Linked DNA regions of Homo sapiens: regions 1 and 3 are each linked to region 2. Evidence: promoter capture Hi-C in human tissues and cell types (Jung and others, 2019). All regions are on one chromosome and are shown on one strand. Each heading gives the region's core, a stretch centred on a gene start or on the middle of the fragment in contact. The rest is flanking DNA. Distances are from core to core; before and after follow the strand shown.

Region 1 (2,700 bases), core at 15-2,514, 1.3 Mb after region 2:
TCTTCCTCACTTCCTCCCTCCCTCCTTCCTTCCTTCTTTTCTCTAAGCCATTCTCTTTCCATCAGTCTCAACACTATGTCACATAGAAAAAAATCATCTTTGAGCAGCTGAAACAGGACGGGTAGTGACCTCCTGCTTGGTGGCTTAAAACAACAAAACTTTATTTTCTCAGTCCTGGAGACCAGACTTCTGCAATCAAGGTGGGAGCAGAAGCTTGCTCTCTCCTGGGCTCTAGGGGAGAGCTTTTCCGCACCTCTTCCAGCTTCTGGTGGCTCCCAGTAACCTTTGACTTTCCTGAACTTGTGGAGGCATCCTTCCAATCCCTGCCTTTGTCTTCATGTGGTGTCCTCCTGTGTGTCCCTGTATTCAAATCTTCCTCTTCTTCTAAGGGCGCCAGTCATATTGGATTTATGTCCCACCCTAATCCAATATGACCACATTTTAATGTGATTGCATCTATAAAGGCTCTATTATCAAAAAAGGGTCGCATTCACAGGGTCCAAGTGGATGTGAGTTTTCAGGGTAAACTAGTCAACTCAGCACACCTTGATTCTTTTTCTTTTCTTTCTTTTTTTTTTCCTGAGATGGAGTCTCGCTCTGTCACCCAGGCTGGAGTGCAGTGGCACGATCTTGGCTCACTGCAACCTCTGCCTCCTGGGTTCAACCAATTCTCTTGCCTCAGCCTCCCCAGTTGTTGGGATTACAGGCATGTACCACCTCTTCTTTACCAAAAATAAAAATTAGCCAGGCACAGTGGTGCACCTGTAACAATCCCCGCTACTCAAGAGGCTGAGGTGGGAGGATCACTTGAGCCCAGGAGTTTGAGACCAGCCTAAGCAACATGGTGAGACTTCATGTCTACAAAAAAAAATTTTTTTAATAAAAAAATATATATCGTGGCTGGGGCCAGCACTTTGGGAGGCCGAGGCAGGCAGATCACCTGAGGTCAGGGGTTCATGACCAGCCTGGCCAACATGGTGAAACCCTGTCTCTACTGAAAATGCAAAAAAAAATTAGCCAGGCATGGTGGCAGGCGCCTGTAATCCCAGCTACTCAGGAGGCTAAGGCAGGAGAATTGCTTGAACCCAAGAGGCGGAGGTTGCAGTGAGCCAAGATGACGCCACTGCACTCAGCCTAGTCTACAGAGCGAGACTCTGTCTCAAAAAAAAAAAAAAAATATATATATATATATATCTAGGTGTGGTGGTATGCACCCATGCTCCCAGCTCCTCAGCTACTCAGGAGGCTTAGATGGGAGGATCACTTGAGCCCAGGAGGCTGAGGCTGCAGTGAGCTATGATTATGCCACGGCACTCCAGCAGAGACCCTGTCTAAAAAAAAAAAAATCCACATGCAATTATAGTTTTGCCCGAAGAAGATGAGGTCCAGCTCTGGGTGGTGACAATCATATTTCTATAGTATGTGGCATGGGTTGAAAGAACAAGCTGAGACCACATTCTCCTTCCTGGATCCCTCTAATACTCTGGCCAGAACAAAGCACCATAAGGAAGATGAAGTTCAGAGTCGAGAAGGCTTCCCAGGATCACAAAGCAAGCTAGAAACAACTCCCCACTGAGGCTGGAACCCACCTCCTGACCTCCAATTGTGAGATCCTTTAGTCTCAGAAAATCAAAACCATCTTCTTCCAACCCCCAGAAGAAATATCAGGCATGACTCCTCCAACCAAAGACAACTACCCAAGAAGTACTCGAAGTTCAGCAGAATCTAATTTTGCACTGGAGGTGACTAGAGCATGGGGTCACCTCTACACTCGCATAGAAAAGGCCTGGGTTTGAACAGCGAGAAGGGGCCATGCCCTCTCTGAACGTCTTAGCTACAGACCTGTCTCCACGGGGCCTGGGATGCCCAGAGAAATGTGGATCCTCTGGCACAGGCATTTGAGTGTCTCCTGGCAGTTACAGGCGTATACGAAGGCGGCCGAAGAGCCTGGCTCACCTGCCTGATGGAAATACGTCTCAGGAACACCAGGCCCTTCAAGTTGGTTTGACAAGCTCCCTTCTGGAGACGCTGGGGTCCTCACTGCTAAGACAAATTCCTGACAGAACCCCATACTCACCTTGACCTTGGGCCGCTGGGGGAAGCCTGCAGAGGGTTTGACAGAAGCGCACAGCGCAATGTCAAGGCTGCTGCAGAGGGGTCTGCAGAAGACAGGCCCAGACTGCCAGAGGATCATGGTCCATCCCGGCACTCAGCAAGGCCAGCACCCTCTTGGAGCCTTTACTTCCTCATCTGTAAGAGGGAACAGCTGAAATCCTATCCCTGGAGTCACTGTGAAAAGTCACATTTTGGGTTTTCTAATTTATTTTTTTTAGAGACAGAGTCTTGCCCTGTCACCCAGGCTAGAGCACAATGGTGCAATCACAGCTCACTGCAGCCTCACCCTGCCAGGCTCAAGCGATCCTCCCACCTCAGCCTCTCAAGTGGCCAGACTACAGCCACACGCCACCATGCCCAGCTAATTTTTAAAAAAAAATTTTGCAGAGATGAGGTCTCATTATATTGCCCAGGCTGGTCTGAAATTCCTGGGCTCAAGCTGTCCTCCCACCTCGGCCTTCAAGTCATGGTTTTTTGTTTGTTTGTTTGTTTGTTTGTTTTACGGAAGCGAAACTCACAGGATGTAAAATTGACCATTTAAAAGTGAACAATTCAGCCGCGCATGGTGGCTTTTGCCTGTAATCC
Region 2 (2,700 bases), core at 52-2,551:
GGTGTGGACAGCTATACAAATAAACCAGTTGCTGTGGTAATAATGGAACCCAAATTAAGGAACTGTCATCTTGACAGTCCAAAAGTAACCTGAACATGCAGAATTCCAGAGCAGGGCAAATTTCTAAAAAATGAAGAGAACTTTATCAAATGGCTTTCAAACTTCCACAAGAGAAAGACAGCTCAGTGTATCACGGAATTTCAGAGTCGGAAGGAACCCTGGCATCGTTTACTCTACTCTCCTGCACTCTTTTCCAAAAATTACCTTGGCTGTCTCTGCTTTACACCCTCCAGAGATGCGTGGTTCACTATGTTACATTTCTCCTTCCAACAAACTAAAATCTGCGTTCCAGATTTTACATCTGCCTCCCACTCGCTAGTCTGGATAACGCTCTGCAGGAAAACACAAAACAAGGTCTAATTCTTCCATGTGACAACCTCTTGGTCACTTCAAAACTATTGTCTAATTCTTACTGTCACTTTCTCCAAGCTTAATGCTTTAGCAACATGGTCTCAAATGTTTGCTCACCATTCTGCAATCTGTGGGTACACAATACAGTTTGTTAAAAGTCTCTAGAGACGACCCCCATTGAATATTTGACGGCCTGTAAAATCTCTATCTCTTCTCAGCTCTAGATATTTTGGATTGGGCCTCCACAGGACCACACTCATTGTATTCTATGGAGCATATTTGGGTGCCTGTGGAGGGGGTATCTCTGTTACTGGAACCAAGGACAGCAGCCTAAAACTCCCCATCCCTTGTTCCCAGAGGACTGGGCCCTACACTACCGAGGTCCTCTCTTATCTCTGAAAGGTCCAGAAGAGACCAATAATGGCCCTGGAGTAGGAAGAGACGTCGGAACATGAGCAGAAAAGGATCTGGTAGCCTGGGAAGTAATAGTAACAACGCGGGGCTGGGGCTGGTGATACTGCTGTGGGAAGGGGCCTCAGTGGGGCAGCAGGGCTGGAAAACGGACGCTAATGGCTGGAAAAGGGCCAGGAAGCTGCTGGGCGCAGCCCCCGGGGCGCAGGCAGCGACTGGTAACAGCACTAGGGCTGTGCGGTGTCTGGCCCCAGCTCTACGGGACTGGGAAATGGTGGGCGAACGCCTAAGGATTAGGCGGGGTCGGGTCACGCTCTAAGCTGGGGGCCCGCCCCTCGGTATCCCCGCGCTCCGAGCGCCGCCCACCCACCGGAGTAGCCAGGCATCCCAGTGCTCGGGGTTCGGGACTCTGGACCAGAAATGTGGGCAGCAGCTGGGTACCTGCGACTTCTGCCCCGTACCTGCGCGCGCGGCAGAGAGGCCTTAGGTCACGCGCCGCCCCGCCTACCTCCCCCTCCAGCTCCTGGCAAGCCGGCGCGCGGCGATGACGTGCCGAGTGCGCCGCACGCCGCTGACGTCAGAGACCAATGGCTGCGGCCGCAGCTGCGGCGCTGGAATCCTGGCAGGCGGCGGCTCCGCGGAAGAGGCGCTCCGCGGCTCGACGGCCGCGGCGGAGGGAGGCGGCGCCCCGGGGGAGAGAGGCGGCGCCCCGGGGGAGAGAGGCGGCGCCCCGGGGCCCCGAGGCGGAGTTCGAGTCTGACAGCGGAGTCGTGCTTCGTCGCATCTGGGAGGCTGAGTGAGTGCAGGCTCGGCCCTGATGGAATCTTTGCGCCCATGGGCAATTCTGAGCCACAGTCTCCCCATCTGTAGAGTGGAGATATAATGCACACCCTTTAAGGAGTTATTGTGAAGAGTTAACGTAGGTAACGAGCTCATTAAAGATGTGGATTATAGTAAGCGCTCAGTTAAAGGTCGTCTTTCCTTTTATTACGGTTACAGCTGCGTGACCTTGGACAATTTATAATCTCTGTGCCTCAGTTTTCTCATCTGTGAGATGGGGATGAAAATAGTACATACGTAGGTTTGTTTTGAGGATTCAATGAATTAGTAAACGGAAACCATTTTCTGGCACGTGGTAAGCACTGTGCCAGTGTTTGCTATTAATATTATGCCGATGTTGATATTATTGGTGGTGGTGACACGAGGGAAGCAACATGAACACGTGACTGCTATCATCAGGCAGCTGCTATGTGCCTGACATTAGCTTAATCATTCTACACACTTTATGTTAAACATTGCAGGCATACTAGGACCCTGGTAGCTCACTGATTCTCAAAGAGACAAAGAAAATGTGTGGAACCAGATTTCAAACCCAGGTCTTTGTGACAAAAACCAGTGCTTCCAGCTTTCCATTATGCTTGTTGCTTATCCCAGCCCAGATTCTCACATACCTTGCTCTGTACCTTAGAAAGTACATAGAGAGTGCCTAATACAGAGGAAACACTCAATAAATGTTACTTATTATTGTTATTTAGTATTATTATCTTTATTCGCAGTTTTGTTTAGGCTCAATAAATAACAGCTTTAGTTAGCACTTAAGATCAGCATCCGAAGGGCCGTCACAAGGGGAGAAATTAGATTAATTTTGTGTGCTCCTCTCCCCTAGAATTAGGGTCAAGAGGCAGTAATGTCCCAGAGTTTACCTCTGAAGAGAAAGTTGCTGACCATTTGGCTCAGCCTGAATAAAAAGCACCTGCGATTATTTTTAAGCTCTCAGAGGATGCCAGTGAGAGTGAATGTGCCTAGGGGTTTGGAAAACTCAAGGCATTTTTCATATCCCTTGACACTGTCACGATCTCCTCAACTGCTTCAGTATTC
Region 3 (2,700 bases), core at 111-2,610, 1.1 Mb before region 2:
TTTTGAGATAATTGTAGCTTCTCATGCAGTTGTGAGGAAACATACAGAGGGATCCCAGGTACTCCGGCCAGTTCCCTCAACGGTAGCACCTTGCAGCTACAGTAACGGATCAGAGCCAGGAGATTGACATTGATACAGCAAGAAGGGAACACTTCCCTCCCAAACATCCCTCATGTTGCCCTTTCACAGAAACACTCTCTTCCCACTGTCCCAAACCCCTCCTTAGCCCCTGGCAACTATTAATTTGGTCTCCACTTGTGTAATTTTGTTATTTCAAGAATGTTCTGCACATGGAATCATACAGTATGTGATTTCTGGGGACTGGCTTTCTCCCACTCAGCATAGTTTTCTGGGTGTTCCTCCAGGTGGCTCGGTTGCAACATACTTTGTTCCTTTTTAATACTAAATAGGAGTCTAAGTATGTAACCTTCTGAGTCTGGCTTCCTGAGTTCAGTGTAACAATGTTGCAATTCATCCCAGTTGCCTTATTGATCAATAGTTTGTTCCCTATTATTGCTGAGTCTGATTCTCCGTCTTGCTCTGTCACCCAGGCTGGAGTGCAGTGGCGAGATCTTGGCTCACTGCAAGCTCTGCCTCCCGGGTTCATGCCATTCTCCTGCCTCAGCCTCCCGAGTAGCTGGGACTACAGGCATCTGCCACCACGCCCGGCTAATTTTTTTGTATTTTTAGTAGAGACGGGGTTTCACCGTGTTAGCCAGGATGGTCCCGATCTCGTTTAGCCATTCACCAGCTGAATGACAATTGTGTTGTTTCCACTTGTGGGGTGTGTGTATGTGTGTGGTGGGTCAAACCAGATGTTTCTGCTGTTCTGTGTGTGTGTGTGTGTGTGTGTGTGTGTGTGTGTGTGTGTTTTGAATAGCAGGTGTTTTCTTTTTAATTTTTTTAATTATACTTTAAGTTCTAGGGTACATGTGCACCGTGTGTGTATACAGATGTTTCTGCTTTTTGCCAATGGTGAATAAAACCAGTATAAGTATTTGCAAACAAATTTTTGTTTGAACATAAGTTTTCATTCCATTTGGATAAAAACCTAGGAGTAGGGTTTGCTTGATATGCATAAGCATATGTTTATTAGAAATTGCCGGCCGGGTGTGGTGGCTCACGCCTGTAATCCCAGCACTTTGGGAGGCCAAGGTGGGTGGATCACGAGGTCAGGAGATCGACATCATCCTGGCTAACACGGTGAAACCCCGTCTCTACTAAAAATACAAAAAATTAGCCGGGCATGGTGGCAGGCGCCTGTAGTCCCAGCTACTGGGAAGGCTGAGGCAGGAGAATGGTGTGAACCCGGGAGGCGGAGCTTGCAGTGAGCCGAGATCGCACCACTGTACTCCAGCCTGGGCAACAGAGCGAGACTCCGTCTCAAAAAAAAAAAAAATTGCCAAATGGTTTTTAGAGGGGAAGCTGGTGGGGGTGGGGACATAGGGGTAGGGGAGGATTCGGTTAATGAAGCCTCCACCAGCCCAGCTGGGAAATGGGCCTGTATCCAGCACCGAGGTGCCCAGGCCCTGTGCCCAGACCTGAGCTAGACAGGGTCTCAAGATCGCAGTCAGTGAAGGGTCAGAAGCGGCATCTTCTGCTCCAGAAGCTTCTGTTCATGCAGGCCCTGCCCCCTTCTCAGGGCTCTGTAGGAACTGTTCAAAATGCTAGGTGCAGAGCTATGGCCAACTGTAGGGCACAGCCAGACACTCAGAGCTCAGAGGGACCCAGGGTGGGCAGGATTGGCCAAAGCCGGAAGTGGGTACCTGCAGGTCACACGCCACCTGCTGCCTCTAGACCTTGGATATTTCAGGGGGCTTGGCCAGTTACAGGGAGGGAAAGGGAAATGGGGACCCTTCCAATTGCTGCCGTGGGACCCTAAGGTCTTGGGTAGTGACAAGGAACCTGGAAGCACAGCTGCCCCCAAGAGGCCTTCCAGGGTCTCTCCTTCATGGGCAGGACTTCAGACTGGACAGTTACTTATCCGTTTTTCCATCAGTCTGTCCATCCATATATCTGTCCATACACACACACACCCACCCTTCCACAAGCCCCCTGAGGCTTCCTGGGGCCTGACCTATATAGACCCTCAGCTCCTGATGTCCCAGGCAAGGCAGGATCGGCCTAGCCCAGCCCCAGGTGAGACCTGAAGTGTGCCTGCTCATGCACCGTGGCAGAAGGGGACTGTGGCACTGGGGTCCCCTGGGAGTACTTGTCCCTGCCCAGTCCAGAGCTCAGGCTGCAGGAAAGACCCTCTGTGAAGAAAATGAGGGGCAGGGGATACTGGGGATTCCATGTCAGCAAAGGTGGCCTGGGGGCAGTGGCAACCTCAGACAGGCCTGGGAGCTGCAACCAGGGCTGGAGGGCAGAGGGAGGAAGGGCATGCTGGAAGATGGGTGTGAGCAAAGGCACAGGAGTGACCTCAGCGCCCCTTCTCTCAACAGGGATATGGCAGGTGCACATGGGCCCCCATAAAAGCACGCTGAGGGATCATCTCAGAGACCCTAGAACCTGTCTGCCATACCACGTGCTCTGCCACCCTGCTCACCACCCAAAAATTCCTTCCATTCTGCCGCATGGCTGGGCCCTGCACTGGGCCAGGCCTTCATGGCGGGCAGGGGACAAGGGAGGGAGGGGGTCTGGGCCCTGAATGGGACACAGACAGTGGCCACCTGGTAAAGAAGACTGAATGAGCAGAGG

What was found. Contacts are between HindIII fragments. The study calls those that stand out against the background at their distance.
Region 1: a contact is called between a fragment that was not itself captured here and the fragment with the promoter of HPS4 in region 2, in 1 of the 25 tissues and cell types used here (dorsolateral prefrontal cortex).
Region 3: a fragment that was not itself captured here is called in contact with the fragment with the promoter of HPS4 in region 2 in 1 of the 25 tissues and cell types used here (mesenchymal stem cells).

What each region holds. Positions count from the first base shown.
Region 1 is chr22:27,816,938-27,819,637 of GRCh38, forward strand. No RefSeq gene overlaps it. Among named protein-coding and RNA genes, the nearest start is that of MN1, 17 kb to the left of the region's middle. The HindIII fragment of the contact is 5,315 bases long and covers 1-2,700 here.
Region 2 is chr22:26,482,482-26,485,181 of GRCh38, forward strand. HPS4 (HPS4 biogenesis of lysosomal organelles complex 3 subunit 2) reads right to left here and starts at 1,302. Exons shown (of 14, transcript NM_022081.6): 1 at 1,193-1,302. SRRD (SRR1 domain containing) reads left to right here and starts at 1,396. Exons shown (of 7, transcript NM_001013694.3): 1 at 1,396-1,618. The coding sequence starts at 1,410. RefSeq lists an enhancer at 1,350-1,469 and a silencer at 1,490-1,579. The HindIII fragment of the contact is 11,927 bases long and covers 224-2,700 here.
Region 3 is chr22:25,427,854-25,430,553 of GRCh38, forward strand. No RefSeq gene overlaps it. Among named protein-coding and RNA genes, the nearest start is that of MIR6817, 26 kb to the right of the region's middle. The HindIII fragment of the contact is 6,166 bases long and covers 1-2,700 here.